Linked DNA regions of Homo sapiens: region 2 is linked to region 1. The links are contacts of gene promoters, found by promoter capture Hi-C in blood cells and fetal thymus (Javierre and others, 2016). All regions are on one chromosome and are shown on one strand. The core of a region is centred on a gene start or on the middle of the fragment in contact, and the rest is flanking DNA. Distances in the headings are between cores, read along the strand shown. Region 1 holds the start of IRF9 (interferon regulatory factor 9). Region 2 overlaps DHRS4L2 (dehydrogenase/reductase 4 like 2).

Evidence for each region. The method cuts DNA at HindIII sites, captures the fragments that hold promoters and counts their contacts. A CHiCAGO score of 5 or more calls a contact.
Region 2: a contact is called between a fragment that was not itself captured here and the fragment with the promoter of IRF9 in region 1, in 1 of 17 cell types (activated CD4 T cells). The highest score is 5.3, in activated CD4 T cells.

Annotation. Positions count from the first base shown.
Region 1 is chr14:24,160,015-24,167,471 of GRCh38, forward strand. It overlaps IRF9 (interferon regulatory factor 9), which reads left to right and starts at 1,251. Exons shown (of 9, transcript NM_006084.5): 1 at 1,251-1,324; 2 at 2,130-2,310; 3 at 2,952-3,135; 4 at 3,364-3,494; 5 at 3,864-3,945; 6 at 4,049-4,120; 7 at 4,600-4,941; 8 at 5,833-5,948; 9 at 6,108-6,551. The coding sequence starts at 2,131. The coding sequence ends at 6,182. RNF31 (ring finger protein 31) reads left to right here. Exons shown (of 21, transcript NM_017999.5): 20 at 225-393; 21 at 506-641. The coding sequence ends at 559. RefSeq lists enhancers at 978-1,367, 2,357-2,416. The HindIII fragment of the contact is 4,395 bases long and covers 1-4,296 here.
Region 2 is chr14:24,004,624-24,012,080 of GRCh38, forward strand. DHRS4L2 (dehydrogenase/reductase 4 like 2) reads left to right here. Exons shown (of 8, transcript NM_198083.4): 8 at 1,263-1,780. It also overlaps the pseudogene DHRS4L1. Among named protein-coding and RNA genes, the nearest start is that of DHRS4L2, 19 kb to the left of the region's middle. The HindIII fragment of the contact is 368 bases long and covers 3,862-4,229 here.

The sequences.
Region 1 (7,457 bases), core at 1-2,500:
GGCATGCCCAGGCAGTAAAATGGGTCCTTGGGAGCAGTAGGTCTTGCAGTGGGTGGGAGGGAGGAGGCTTTCTGGGCAAGGGCATGGGTAGATAGTAGCAGGCAGTGTGGGCACAGGTGGGTTGTTAATCTTGTTCGTCCAGGTGTCTCAGAGTCCAGCTATGTTAGACACACTCAGTTAATATTAGCCAACACAACAAATATTCTGCTCCCTTTTCTCCCCAGGGCACACTACAAAGAGTATCTTGTGAGCCTCATCAATGCCCACTCGCTGGACCCAGCCACCTTGTATGAGGTGGAAGAGCTGGAGACGGCCACTGAGCGCTACCTGCACGTACGCCCCCAGCCTTTGGCTGGAGAGGATCCCCCTGCTTACCAGGCCCGCTTGTTACAGGTATAGCCTCCACCCAGCCTCATCTCTTAACCCACCCTACAGAAGTCACCTGGTGCTGACTGTGTCTGAGCTCCAGGCTTCCAATATCATTACCTTCTCTCTCCTTCTGCAGAAGCTGACAGAAGAGGTACCCTTGGGACAGAGTATCCCCCGCAGGCGGAAGTAGCTGAGGGCAAGGGTCCCGATGAGGGTCCCATGGCCTGCTCCCTCAGGAACAGCTCCAGCACCAATAAAGAGGCATCTTACCACCCAGGCTTCTTGGTGGTCCTTCTTCCTGGTGCCACCATCTAGGGGCACCAGGGAAAGAGCGGGGTGAACAGAGCTTTGCTGAAAAGGGCCCCCTGCAACCTAGTGCCTGACCCTCCCTGGACTCAGGACCAGGAAGGAGTTGACACCCTGGATGGTCAAGGGAGGCCCTCCCCATCCAGCAGCCTGGCCTGGGCTTCCTCCCTCCCTGCCTCCTTTTTTCCTTTCATAGAATTTGACTGGTATTTGAAGTCACCCAATATGTATCAGGTGGGCACTGTGGGGGAATGCAGATGCACAGGTGTACACAGCAGTCCAGAGGTCCCAGGCCTGACTCCAGGAAACTGGCCTCCCTGGGGAAGCCACGGTGTCACCCAGAGGTCAGATAGAAGCAAGAGTATCTGAGGGAGGCAGGGGAATGAGCCAGGCTGGAGCTGAGCCAGCAGGGCAGGGCCCCCCTGCTGCGACAGTGGCATCCTGATAGTGAGATGCTCAGATGCTGCTGCCCTCTAGTGGCCGCCAGTTCCCTGCAACTCAGACCACGTGATTTCTGGGAAAAGGCCCTCCCTGGAGGAGAACTGAAACTTAGGGTGGGGACTGTAGAAAGGGGCGGAGAGATCAGCCGCCCAGCCAGGAGTTAAGCTGAGGTCGTCTGAGCCCTGCGACAGCCTGGACAGCAACTCAGGTAAGATCAGCCAAGGATGGGAGTCAGCCTGGGATCTAGGGCTAGAAAGTCCAGCCAGATTGAGGGCAGGGGGTCCTAGGGGTCGCTCTGTTAGACTGAGGGATAGACAGAAGATCTCTTAAGTCAGGAAGTGGGAGATTCAGCCTGAGAGTGAGACTGACAAGGGCCAGCTCCCCAGACCCTTGTAGGCAAAGGTCAGGAGGACCTACTGCTGGATTGTTCAAGGAAGAAGGCTCCTGGCCCCAGCCTCAGTGGACCATTTGTTTCCTTGCCATCTGGCCCTGCCCACTTCTGCTGCAGCTCCAACCCCACCCCTACTTCCTGCCCCACCTACTCCTGGGGCCGGCAGGGGGTGGGGGTCAGGCTAGGTTGTGTAGGCTGTGGGGCGGTGGGTGAAGAGCCTGATGGATCTCAGCAGAACCTACCTCTGCTGATGCTCGGGAATCTAGACAGGGCCTGTCACCAGGAACGATCACCAAAGGAATTCTTTTGTAAACAATACATCTCTGAAAAGTCCTAAAATTAAGACCAGTGCCCAAGGTTTCCTTCCAGGTATCACAGCTTAGAGTGCTAAAAACAATGTTTTGGGGGGTTTTGTTGTTGTTGTTGTTGTTTGTCACTGCTAGTGATGGCAGAAAGGAAACAATTCTGTCCCATAGAGTGTTGAAATGTGTTTGGAGCTAAAAGAAGATGGATGGGATCTCTGGGACCTGTTGCCAGAATCTAGTCTCAATGGCCAGGGTCTCAGGAGATGTTCCCTCCCAAAGTGTCAGTTCTGATGCATCCTGCTCCTATTATCCCCCAGGATGGCATCAGGCAGGGCACGCTGCACCCGAAAACTCCGGAACTGGGTGGTGGAGCAAGTGGAGAGTGGGCAGTTTCCCGGAGTGTGCTGGGATGATACAGCTAAGACCATGTTCCGGATTCCCTGGAAACATGCAGGCAAGCAGGACTTCCGGGAGGACCAGGATGCTGCCTTCTTCAAGGTGAAAGGGCCTGGAAACCACTGTTCCTCTGTGTGTGGGATGGTGTATACACACTGGTACACTCATCCTCGAGCACTTGCGTCTGCCTGGGTTTCAGATAAGGGACAGATTGGAGAGGAAAACTAGCTGCATCATTTGCAGAGTCCAGTACAAAATGAAAATGTGGAGGCCTTGTTCAAAAATTTTAGGGATATTGGCCAGGCACGGTGGCTCACGCCTGTAATCCCAGCACTTCGGGAGGCCAAGGTGGGTGGATCACGAGGTCAAGAGATCAAGACCAGCCTGGCCAACATGGTGAAACCCTGTCTCTACTAAAAATACAAAACTTAGCTGGGCCTAGCGGTGCATGCCTGTAGTCCCAGCTACTCGGGAGACTGAGGCAGGAGAATCGCTTGAACCAGGGAGGTGGAGTTGTAGTGAGTCGAGATCGCACCACTGCACTCCAGCCTGGTGACAGAGTGAGACTCTGTCTCAAAAAAAAAAAAAAAAAATTTCCAAGGATTTCAAGATGGCAACGCAGAGCACAGACCCTGCATAATCCCTTCTGAGCTCAGAGCTGCACGCCTGTAAAGCCAGTCCTATTGGAGGGGCAGGTGGAGCCTGTAACACACTGCCTCTTCTTCCCTTGCTTTCTTTCCTAGGCCTGGGCAATATTTAAGGGAAAGTATAAGGAGGGGGACACAGGAGGTCCAGCTGTCTGGAAGACTCGCCTGCGCTGTGCACTCAACAAGAGTTCTGAATTTAAGGAGGTTCCTGAGAGGGGCCGCATGGATGTTGCTGAGCCCTACAAGGTGTATCAGTTGCTGCCACCAGGAATCGTCTCTGGTGAGTTTCCCCTTGTCCAACCACTGCTAGACTCAGCAGACTGGGGAGGAAGGATAGATGTGCAGGCTTCCCCCAGGCTTATAGCTCTGCCCTGTCCATGCCCTTGGGGGGCTGCAACCCAGGTTTCCCTTCCTAGACCTGCCCATCCTTCACTGCCTCAGACCTCTCCTTCACCCTCTGTCCTTGCTCAAGACCCTGACCTTTCTCTGTCCCTCAACAATTCCACAGGCCAGCCAGGGACTCAGAAAGTACCATCAAAGCGACAGCACAGTTCTGTGTCCTCTGAGAGGAAGGAGGAAGAGGATGCCATGCAGAACTGCACACTCAGTCCCTCTGTGCTCCAGGACTCCCTCAATAATGTAAGAGATGGAGAGGGAACTGGGTGGGCCTAAGGGCAGGACAGTAACCAGAGGGAGAGGTGGGCCAATGAAAGACACTGTGTCTTGGGAGGCCGAGGCTGGCAGATCACGTGAGGTCAGAAGTTCGAAACCAGCCTCGACCAACATGGTGAGAACCCGTCTCTACTAAAAATACAAAAATTAGCTGTGCGTTGTGGCATCTGCCTGTAATCCCAGCTACTCAGGAGGCCGAGGCAGGAGAATCGCTTGAACCGGGGGGCGGAGATAGCAGTGAGCCGAGATCGCGCCACTGCACTCCAGCCTGGGCAACAAGAGTGAAACTCTGTCTCAAAAAAAGAGAAAAAAAATAAAAAGACACTGTGTCCGCAGGAGGAGGAGGGGGCCAGTGGGGGAGCAGTCCATTCAGACATTGGGAGCAGCAGCAGCAGCAGCAGCCCTGAGCCACAGGAAGGTACCACCTGCCCTGCCTCTTGTGTCGTCCCCCATGCCACACCCTCTGGCCCAAGACTCCCCAGTCCCACTCTGAATGACCAGTGCCTTTGCTTCCCTTCCAGTTACAGACACAACTGAGGCCCCCTTTCAAGGGGATCAGAGGTCCCTGGAGTTTCTGCTTCCTCCAGAGCCAGGTACGTGGCATTTCTGACTTTCTCCTGTGCCCTGTGCCCCTGAGGTCTTCCACCTTTGACTATGCATGCATTATCTAGTCAGTCAGGGCTTACAGCAAACTGTACCCACATTACCATAGCCCTAGGCAGTGGTTTCTAGGTGGCGAGAATTCCATATGCCTGGCCAGACTCCAAAAAGCTTGCTTCCCAAAAATACCACCCTATACACTCTCCTGGAAATCTACATTGAGACATTGATTTCATTGGGCCAAACAGAGGCCCAATCTCAAGGGACCTTCTAGTAAACTACAAGCCCCTGGGCATTGAGCCCTGAGGCCTCATGGTGAATCACATACTAGCTACTTGCCTCAGTGATAGGAAAACCTGAGAGGAAGCCCCCTGGCTGGTGTGGGGAGGGGAGGTGGAGTTGTTCCCCTGGGGAGGGGCTGCTGCCAGCCTGCATGCTCCTCCAGCACCAGGTAGGGCTGTTCTATCCCCAGACTACTCACTGCTGCTCACCTTCATCTACAACGGGCGCGTGGTGGGCGAGGCCCAGGTGCAAAGCCTGGATTGCCGCCTTGTGGCTGAGCCCTCAGGCTCTGAGAGCAGCATGGAGCAGGTGCTGTTCCCCAAGCCTGGCCCACTGGAGCCCACGCAGCGCCTGCTGAGCCAGCTTGAGAGGGGCATCCTAGTGGCCAGCAACCCCCGAGGCCTCTTCGTGCAGCGCCTTTGCCCCATCCCCATCTCCTGGAATGCACCCCAGGCTCCACCTGGGCCAGGCCCGCATCTGCTGCCCAGCAACGAGTGCGTGGAGCTCTTCAGAACCGCCTACTTCTGCAGAGGTGAGGCTGTTCTCTCTGGGCACATGAGCTTCCACCCCCTACCTCTTAGTACCCCCTGGGCCCAACTTGTTGGGTCCTGCTACCTCCCTATCTGCCAGCAGATCCTCCATGTAGCCTATGCATGGCACTCCTGCGCTTGTGTGTTGCATATCCTGTGTGGCCATATGCCCAGCCTGGCAGCTACCTGGCAGCTCTCCTCCAGCCAAGACAATGGAAGAGGTGGTTCAGGTAGAGCCCAGCACAAGAGTGTCATATCTTGGAGAACACCATCACACTGAAGCATGCAGTCACTATGTGAAGGTGCACAGAAGAATTGGCACAGAGATTTTGAGCCTCATGGCCTTCTCCTACGTACACACATTTGGGAGAGCTGGCACACATCACACACACTGGCCCTGGCTGCACCGTCTTTACCACACTCCAGGCATGCCTTAGGGTTGCGCTTCTCTCCCATCCAATTCCAGCTCCTACTCAATTCTAAACCTGACCTTAAGAGTGGGACCAGGTGTACAGGGGGTGCAGAGTGTGGGTGTTCCCAGGGCCATGGGTGCCCTAGCACTGGGAGGATGTGAGCAAGTAGCAAAGGTCTGGGCACATCTGAGTTAGCAGCCAGGGCTGCTACCTGGGAGGACTCTAAACTCTCCCAGCAGAGAGCTTGTCGGGCTGTGCTGTGATCTGCTACTTCTAAGCACTTATATGAGGCAGGGGCACCCTTTCCTATTTGCACATGGGTGAGTAGCACTTAGTTCCAAGTACTTCTGACCTTGCAGCTCCTGCTCTGGCAAGACCCCCTCCTACCTCTCTCCATCATGGGTTCCTCACTATTGCCTCCCTGCCTGTGGCCCTCTCTCTTCTTTTTGTTCTTCGAACCCTTGACCCTTTCTCTTTCAGACTTGGTCAGGTACTTTCAGGGCCTGGGCCCCCCACCGAAGTTCCAGGTAACACTGAATTTCTGGGAAGAGAGCCATGGCTCCAGCCATACTCCACAGAATCTTATCACAGTGAAGGTGAGCTCGGAGCAGGGGTAGAGTACCCATCTAATGAGAGCAGAGACAGTGGTGCTCCAGGAGGCAAAGGGGGTCTCCCAGTGGGGAAGGAGCTCCTGGGGGTGGTGTCTGTCCCTGATGCACGCACTGAGATGCTCTTCTCCATCTCTTCCAATACAGATGGAGCAGGCCTTTGCCCGATACTTGCTGGAGCAGACTCCAGAGCAGCAGGCAGCCATTCTGTCCCTGGTGTAGAGCCTGGGGGACCCATCTTCCACCTCACCTCTTTGTTCTTCCTGTCTCCTTTGAAGTAGACTCATTCTTCACACGATTGACCTGTCCTCTTTGTGATAATTCTCAGTAGTTGTCCGTGATAATCGTGTCCTGAAAATCCTCGCACACACTGGCTGGTGGAGAACTCAAGGCTAATTTTTTATCCTTTTTTTTTTTTAATTTTGAGATATACGCCCTCTTTCATCTGTAAGGGACTAGGAAATTCCAAATGGTGTGAACCCAGGGGGCCTTTCCCTCTTCCCTGACCTCCCAACTCTAAAGCCAAGCACTTTATATTTTCCTCTTAGATATTCACTAAGGACTTAAAATAAAATTTTATTGAAAGAGGAATCAGTATCTGATTTTCTGGGAGAAGAAGGTAGCAGTGGTCACAGATAGAGATGTAAACTTAAGAGTGGGGCACTGGGGTTCTCTTCCTGCTGACATCTCCAGCCTCTTTCCTCTCCTCTGCCCACAGGTTCTGGCTAAGATGCTGCCTGGGCCCTGTGGGTCCTGGGCCTGGCACTCTACAGAGGTACCCTCTGGGCAGATAAGATTAGGGTGTGGGTTGGGCACCAAGCCTTCAGCCAGGCACTATAGCCACCAACTTCACATGGTAAAGTCTGGGCTCCACAGTTCTTGCTAGAAGGCCCCAACATCGGGCCTGAGGTTAGTTAGATTGGAGGTCTAAATGAAGAGGAGACACTTGAGGGTGACCTGAAACTATGGTCTAGAGGCCCTGGGACCTGAGAACAGAGGAGTCAGAGAGAAGAGTTGCTGAAACTGTACCTGCTGTTACTGGCACCTCTTCCTCCAGCACAATTTCACTGTCACCCCAGCAGGGTACTCCCAAACTGGATTCCTTGCTCTATCTAAGCCCCATAAAAGACACTCTGGCCGGCTGGGCGCAGTGGCTCACACCTATAATCCCAGCACTTTGGGAGGCCAAGGTGGGTGGATCACTTGAGATCAGGAGTTCGAGACCAGCCTGGCCAACACGGTGAAACAGCGTCTCTTCTAAAAATACAAAAATTAGCCAGGCCTGGTGGCGGGCACCTGTAATCTCAGCTACTTGGGAGGCTGAGGCAGGAGAATCGCTTGAACCCGGGAGGCGGAGGTTGCAGTGAGCCAAGATCGTGCTATTGTACTCCAGCCTGGGCAACAAGAGCGAGACTCTGTCTCAAGATTAAAAAAGAAAAAAAAAAAAAGCACTCCGGCCTAGACTGCCATGTCATGCTGTTCATGAGACTTGAGGGC
Region 2 (7,457 bases), core at 2,796-5,295, 150 kb before region 1:
GGAGAAGCCCTGAGTCCTCTCTCCACCTGGGGGATTGCCTCCACCTCTGAGCATCCATGGAGACCAGGGACCATAACCAAAACCATGCTTTGTTAGTCCCCTTGAATAATGACACATGTTTACAAAACTCAGGTTGATGATCTACAATCCAAATGAAAAGAATGAAGAGTTTTACTAAGCCCCAAACTCCCCTTGCCTAAGGAGTTACTTTCTTCCCCAGTGAGCTGGGTGAACTGTTCAAGCACCTTTGTCGGGCTCCCTTTCCTCTAAGTTCCCTGCCTCTCTCTACCTTCTGGCTTCAAGGACAAATGCCAGTAATGCCTAACTCTGTACTCGTCCAGACATCCCAAATCTTCCCAAAGCCATTCTGATGTGAGACATGAGCTGCAGGCCTGGTTCATAACTCATTAATAAGTGAGGGGATTGTCAACCTAGAGCACCAATGAATGATCTAGCCCATGTAGCTCAATACTGGATTCACATTAGAATCACCTGGGGAGCTTTTTAAACTGCAGGTGCTCAGGCCCCACCCACTCCCAGAGATTCTTTTTAATTGGTCCAAGGTAGGACTTGACCATCTGGGCTTTTGTTTTTCTTTGTCTTTTCTTTTCTTTTCTTTTTTGGTTTAAGCCTCTCAAATGATTGCAAGATACAAGTAGAATGGAGAAGCATTAATTCAGCCCTTCTAGGTTTGAGTTACTCACTCTGCCCACCTCTAGAGCATTCTATGGCAGGGAGATTAAAGTGTCTCCTAACTATGCAGTCACTGATAAAATAAGAATTAGCACATTCTCACTAAATGAACATGACTTTAAGGCACAAGTATAGATTCCTGAAAAAGTTCTAAGCTGAACCTGTACAAATGGAATCATTTTAAACACACCATTTACTGTCACACAGACTCCCTGATACTTTAGTGTGTGCACATGTGAAACCATTTTTTTGAAGTATGAAATAATTAATTGCTCACCATTTTATCTATATAACTTTGGATTTTGGTGTCCTGAGCTCTCTAAAAACCGGTGTGTTTCTATAGTATTTGAATATTATGGGTAATAGTTTTGCAGAGTACAGTATGCTTATACTAAATTATAACAGCATATCCTCGTGGTAACCCTATTTGATAGGCAGAAAGCTTGTACACTGATCCTGAAAAGTCATCTGATAATTCTTGATTAAGCAAATTTAACTCCCCGTGTCCCAGGTGAGGGAGGCAGACCCGTTTGATTTTTACCTCCTTCCTTGCTTCCCTTATTCCCCAGGTTAGGCGAGCCAGAGGATTGTGCTGGCATCGTGTCTTTCCTGTGCTCTGAAGATGCCAGCTACATCACTGGGGAAACAGTGGTGGTGGGTGGAGGAACCCCGTCCCGCCTCTGAGGACCGGGAGACAGCCCACAGGCCAGAGTTGGGCTCTAGCTCCTGGTGCTGTTCCTGCATTCACCCACTGGCCTTTCCCACCTCTGCTCACCTTACTGTTCACCTCATCAAATCAGTTCTGCCCTGTGAAAAGATCCAGCCTTCCCTGCCGTCAAGGTGGCGTCTTACTCGGGATTCCTGCTGTTGTTGTGGCCTTGGGTAAAGGCCTCCCCTGAGAACACAGGACAGGCCTGCTGACAAGGCTGAGTCTACCTTGGCAAAGACCAAGATATTTTTTCCTGGGCCACTGGGGAATCTGAGGGGTGATGGGAGAGAAGGAACCTGGAGTGGAAGGAGCAGAGTTGCAAATTAACAACTTGCAAATGAGGTGCAAATAAAATGCAGATGATTGCGCGGCTTTGAATCCAATTGACCTGTTCATTTCTCAGTGTTGGGTGCTTAGCTGAGCAGAGAGCAGAAGTCTATTCAGGCTGGATCTCTGGATCCCCCAGCCCTCCTCCCTGTCTCCAGAACTTGAGCGTGATGTTCACGGGTGGAGGTGTCTGCAGAGCTGCCAGCTGGAAGGAAGGTGGCACGGGAACTCCCAGGACGCCACGGGAATCCCCGAGGCAGCGCGAGCCCGGAGAGAGTGGGGAAGGATGAACTCTCTAACACCTCCCCGCCCCTTGCCTCCCAGATCAGGCCAGGTCCTCTCCCCGCATGGCCCTACGTCCCGAGTTCCCTCCCGAGTCAGCAAGTACAAGCTGGATGGGTCCTGAGCCGGTGGGGAATAGAGAAAGGCCCTGCAAGGTACCCAGGCCCACAAACAAAAGAAATGGGTTCTGCCCACGGGCCCGAGGATTCAGTAGAAGGAAAGTGGGGACGCTGTCCCCCGCCCCAAAGGCACTGACACTGGGCGACACACGCTGAGCCTCTCACACCGACGGGCCTCTCACGCCGGAGCCGGCAAGAAAGGTCGGCGCCAGCCCGCGGGCTCTCAGGAGGCTCGGCAGCGCGACGCGCATGCTCAGTCGGGCAGCTCTCCGGGCCGGCGTGGGAGCCCGCGCTCCAAAGCCCGGTGGGGGGAGGGGCGCTCACGCAACCGCCACTGTCTGGAGCGGGCTCGCCTCTGCGGCGGCACTCACCGCCCGGGCTTTACTGAAGCGGAGTCTAGCATGTGCGGCTGCTCCACAGCGGTGTGGGTGGCGGCGGCTCCTCTGCAGCAGCCTCGGCAGTAGGGGTCACGGTGGCCAAGCCCACCGTGGAGCTCATCTGAGAGTTGTAAGGTACGGGACTGCCTCGGTCTTTGGGACGCCCCGTCTGGTAGCATCCCAGATCCAGCACGTTCCTTCCGGCCCTGCACCCCGGCCCGGTGCCTCACACCCCGCTACCCCATGCATCCAGACTCTAAGGCAGCCCCTGCATCTCAGTCCTGACATCGCTGTCCCTGGAGCATCCTCCGCTGGAGCTGGAGCTTGACAGGTAGGGTGGAGAGGGCCGTGGGGGGGGTGCGGAAACTGCATCAATTAACGGGGCCGTGGGGGAGGGAAGTCCTCCATTGCTAAGGCTTCAGTAGGCGTTCTATGATCACAGTGTAAACAAAGCTGCAGGGAAGCTCTAACTGGGCGGAACCCACCGCAGCTCAGCAAGGCCTACTGCCTCTCCAGATTCCACCTCAGGGGCCAGGGCATATCTGAGCAAAAGGCAGCAGACAGCTTCTGCAGACTTCAGTGTCCTTGCCTGACATCTCTAAAGACAGCAGTGGTTCTCCCAGCACGGAGTTCGTGCTCCGATAACGGACAGACTGCCTCCCCAAGTGGGTCCCTGACCCCCATGTAGCTTGACTGAAAAACACCGCCCAGTAGGGGCAGAGAGACACCTCATACAGGTGGGTGCCCCTGTGGAACAAAGCTTCCAGAAGAAGGATCAGGCAGCAATATTTGCTGTTCTGCAGCCTCCTCTACTGATACCCAAGAAAATAAGGTCTGGAATGGACTTCCAGCAAACCCCCAAAGACCTGCAGCTGAGGGGCCTGTTAGAAGGAAAACTAACAAACAGAAAGGAATAGCATCAACATCAGCAAAGGACAGCATCAACATCAGAACAGGAAAGGACATCCACACTAAAACCCCATCCATAGGTCACCAACATCAAAGACCAAAGGTAGATAAAACCACAAAGATGGAGAGAAACCAGAGCAAAAAGGCTGAAACTTCCAGAAATCAGAACGTCTCTTCTCTTCCAAAGGAATACAAGTCCTCACCAGCAAGGGAACAAAACTGGATGGAGAATAAGTTTGATGACTTGACAGACGTAAGCTTCAGAAGGTCAGTAATAACAAACTACACCCAGCTAAAGGAGCATGTTCTAACCCATTGCAAGGAAGCTAAAAACCTTGACAAAATGTTAAACGAATGGCTAACTAGAATGAAGAATCTAGAGAAGAGCTTAAATGACCTGATGGAGCTGATAACCACAGTACAAGAACTTCATGAAGGATACACAAGCTTCAATAGCTGATTCAATCAAGTGGAAGAAAGGATATCAGTGATTGAATATAAAATTAATGAAATAAAGTGAGAACACAAGATTAGAGACAAGAAAAGAAAAAAGAAACATTCAAATTCAGGAAATACAGAGAACATCACAAAGACACTCCTTGAGAAGAGCAACCCCAAGACACATAATTGTCAGATTCAGCAAGGTTAAGGGCAGCCAGAGAGAAAGGTTGGGTTACCAACAAAGGGAAGCCCATCAGACTAACAGCAGATCTCTCAGCAGAAACCATACAAACCAGAAGAGAGTCGGGACCAATATTCAACATTCTGAAAGAAAAGATTTTTGGAACTAGAATTTCATATCCAGCCAAACTAAGCTTCGTAAGTGAAGGAGAAATAAAATCCTTTACAGACAAGCAGATGCTGAGAGAGTTTGTCACCACCAGGCCTGCCTTACAATAAGAGCTCCTGAAGGAAGCACTAAACATGGAAAGGAACAACCAGTACCAGCCACTGCAAAAACATACGAAATTGTAAAGACCATTGATGCTATGAAGAAACTGCATCAATTAATGGGCAAAATAACCAGCTAACGTCATGACAGGATCAAATTCACATATAACAATACTAACCTTCAATGTAAATGGGATAAATGCCCCAATTAAAAGACACTGACTGGCAAATTGGATAAAGAATCAAGACCCATATGGTGTGCTGTATTCAGGAGACCCAATCTCACGTGCAAAGACACACATAGGCTCAAAATGAAGGTGTGTCTGGAATTGGTGGGTTCTTGGTCTCACTGACTTCAAGAATGAAGCCACGGACCCTCGCAGTGAGTGTTACAGTCCTTAAAGGCAGCGTGTCCGGAGTTTGTTCCTTCTGATGTTCAGACACGTTCAGAGTTTTTTCCTTCTGGTGGGTTCGTGGTCTCGCTGGCTTCAGGAGTGAAGCTGCGGACCTTCACAGTGAGTGTTACAGCTCTTAAGGCGGCATGTCTGGAGTTGTTCGTTCCTCCCATCCGGAGTTGTTCATTCCTCCCACTGGGTTCGTGGCCTCACTGGCCTCAGGAGTGAAGCTGCAGACCTTCACGATGAGTGTTACAGCTCATAAAGGCCGTGTGGACCCAAAGAGTGAGGGGCAGCAAGATTTATTGCAAAGAGCGAAAGAACAAAGCTTCCACAGTGTGGAAGGGGACCCAAGCAGGTTGCTACTGTTTGAAGGGGTGGCTTGCCCCTCCACACCTGTGGGTATTTCTAGTCAGGTGGGACGAGAGACTGAGAAAGAGAAATAAGACACAGAGACAAAGTATAGAGAAACAACAGTGAGCCCAGGGGACCGGCGCTCAGCATACCAAGGACTTGCACCGGCACCGGTCTCTGAGTTCCCTCAGTTTTTATTGATTATTATCGTCATTATTTCAGTAAAAAGGAATGTAGTAGGAGGGCAGGGTGATAATAAGGAGAAGGTCAGCAACAAACGTGAGCAATAGAATCTAATAATTCAGTTCAAGGGAAGGTACTATGACTGGACATGCACGTAAGCCAGATTTATGTTTCTCTCCACCCAAACATCTCGGTGGAGTAAAGAATAACGAGGCAGCATTGCTGCAAACATGTCTCGCCTCCCACCATAGGGCGGTTTTTCTCTCATCTCAGAACTGAACAAATGTACAATCGGGATTTATACCGAGACTTTTAGTTCCCAGGAGCAGGCAGGAGACAGTGGCCTTCCTCTATCTCAACTGCAAGAGGCCTTCCTTTTTTACTAACCCACCGCAGCACAGACCCTTTATGGGTGTCGGGCTGGGGGACAGTCAGGTCTTTCTCATCCCAGGAGGCCATATTTCAGACTATCACATGGGGAGAAACCTTGGACAATACCCTGCTTTCAAGGGCAGAGGTCCCTGCGGCTTTCTGCAGTGCACTGTGCCCCTGGTTTATTGAGACTAGAGAATGGCGATGACTTTTACCAAGTATACTGCTTGTAAACATTTTGTTAACAAGGCACGTCCTACACAGTCCTAGATCCCTTAAACCTTGATTTCATACAACACATGTTCTTGTGAGCTCCAGGTTGGGTCAAAGTGGTTGGGTCAAAGTGGCTGGGGCAAAGCTAAAAATTAACAACATCTCAGAAAAGCAATTATTTAAAGTACAGGTCTTTTTCAAAATGTAGTCTCTTATGTCTTCCCTTTCTACATAGACACGGTAACAGTCTGATCTCTCTTTCTTTTCCCTACATATCCCCCTTTTCTTTTTGACAAAACTGTCATTGTCACCATGGCCTGTTTTTGCTGGTCACTGTCTTTCTGGAACTGCTGGATACACCTGTAGACTAACAATAGAGAGGGCAGACATACAAGGATTAATACAAAATTTGCAATAGTGGAATTTCCAATGGTTTTAACCCAAGTGATGGGGGCAAGAGGACAGTGTGGGTGCTCCGGCACCCAGGCAGTCTCCCTTCTCCTTTGTCTCTTAGTTGTTGTTTCTCATAGTTTTCAATCTTTCTCCTCACCTGCTCACTCGCACTTTTTGTTTCATTGTCTCCCTTCTCTTATGGTCTCTCTCTCTTTTTCTCTTTTTCTTCCTTTTACACTATTTCTTTTCCCAGTCTCACTTTCTGTGTCTCTCTCTGATCTCTGTCTTTCTCTTTTACATTATTTTTTTCCCCAGTCTCACCTTCTGTGTCTTTCTCTGATCTCTGTCTTTTCCAGTCTCTCTCTTACTCATTTTCTCCCTCTCTTTCTCTCTCTCTCTCTCTCTCTCTGTCTGTCATCCCGTGTCCTCTCTCCTTCACACTCAGTCTCTTTTTCTTTTTCTTTTTCTCCCTGGCTCTCCACATCTGCCGTTTTCTCTCCTTTCTCTTTCTGATTTCTCTTCTCACTTTCTCTCTTCCTTTCTTTCCCAGTTTCTCTTTTTTCTCTGTTGGTCTTTCCCAAATAATGAAAAGGAGTGGAGGTCTGAATGTTATCAGATGCTATTGTCAGGCCTGCGTTTGCAACCTCTGTCTGCAGAAATGTGTAACAGTCAATTAATTTGTCTCTCGTTTCTGCAGCACTCAAAATATCATCAACATAATGAATAATATAACAGTCTGAAAACTTGTCTCTAACTGGTTGAAGAACTTGAGCTACAAAAGTCTGACAAATAGTTGGACTATTAAGCATTCCCTGAGGCAACACTTTCCGCTGAAATCTGGTGGCTGGTTTTTTATTATTTATGGCTGGTATAGTAAAAGCAAATTTTTTTAAATCCTATTTTGCCAGAGGAATGGTAAAAACGCAATCCTTTAGCTCAATTATAATTAAAGGCCAATCTTTGGGGATCATGGCCGGAGAAAGCAGCCCAAGTTGGAGAGTCCCCATGGGTTGAATTACTGCATTGATGGCTCTCAAATCAGTTAGGATGCACCATCTGCCTGATTTTTTCTGAATTACAAACGCAGGAGAATGCCAAGGTGAAAATGAAGGCTCAATGTTTCCCTTTTCTAATTGTTCCTTTGCCACTAAGTGTAAGGCCTCCAGTTTTTGCTTTGGTAGTGGCCACTGATTTACCCATACAGGCTTTTCTGTTTTCCCAGTTAATGGAATGGGTTTTG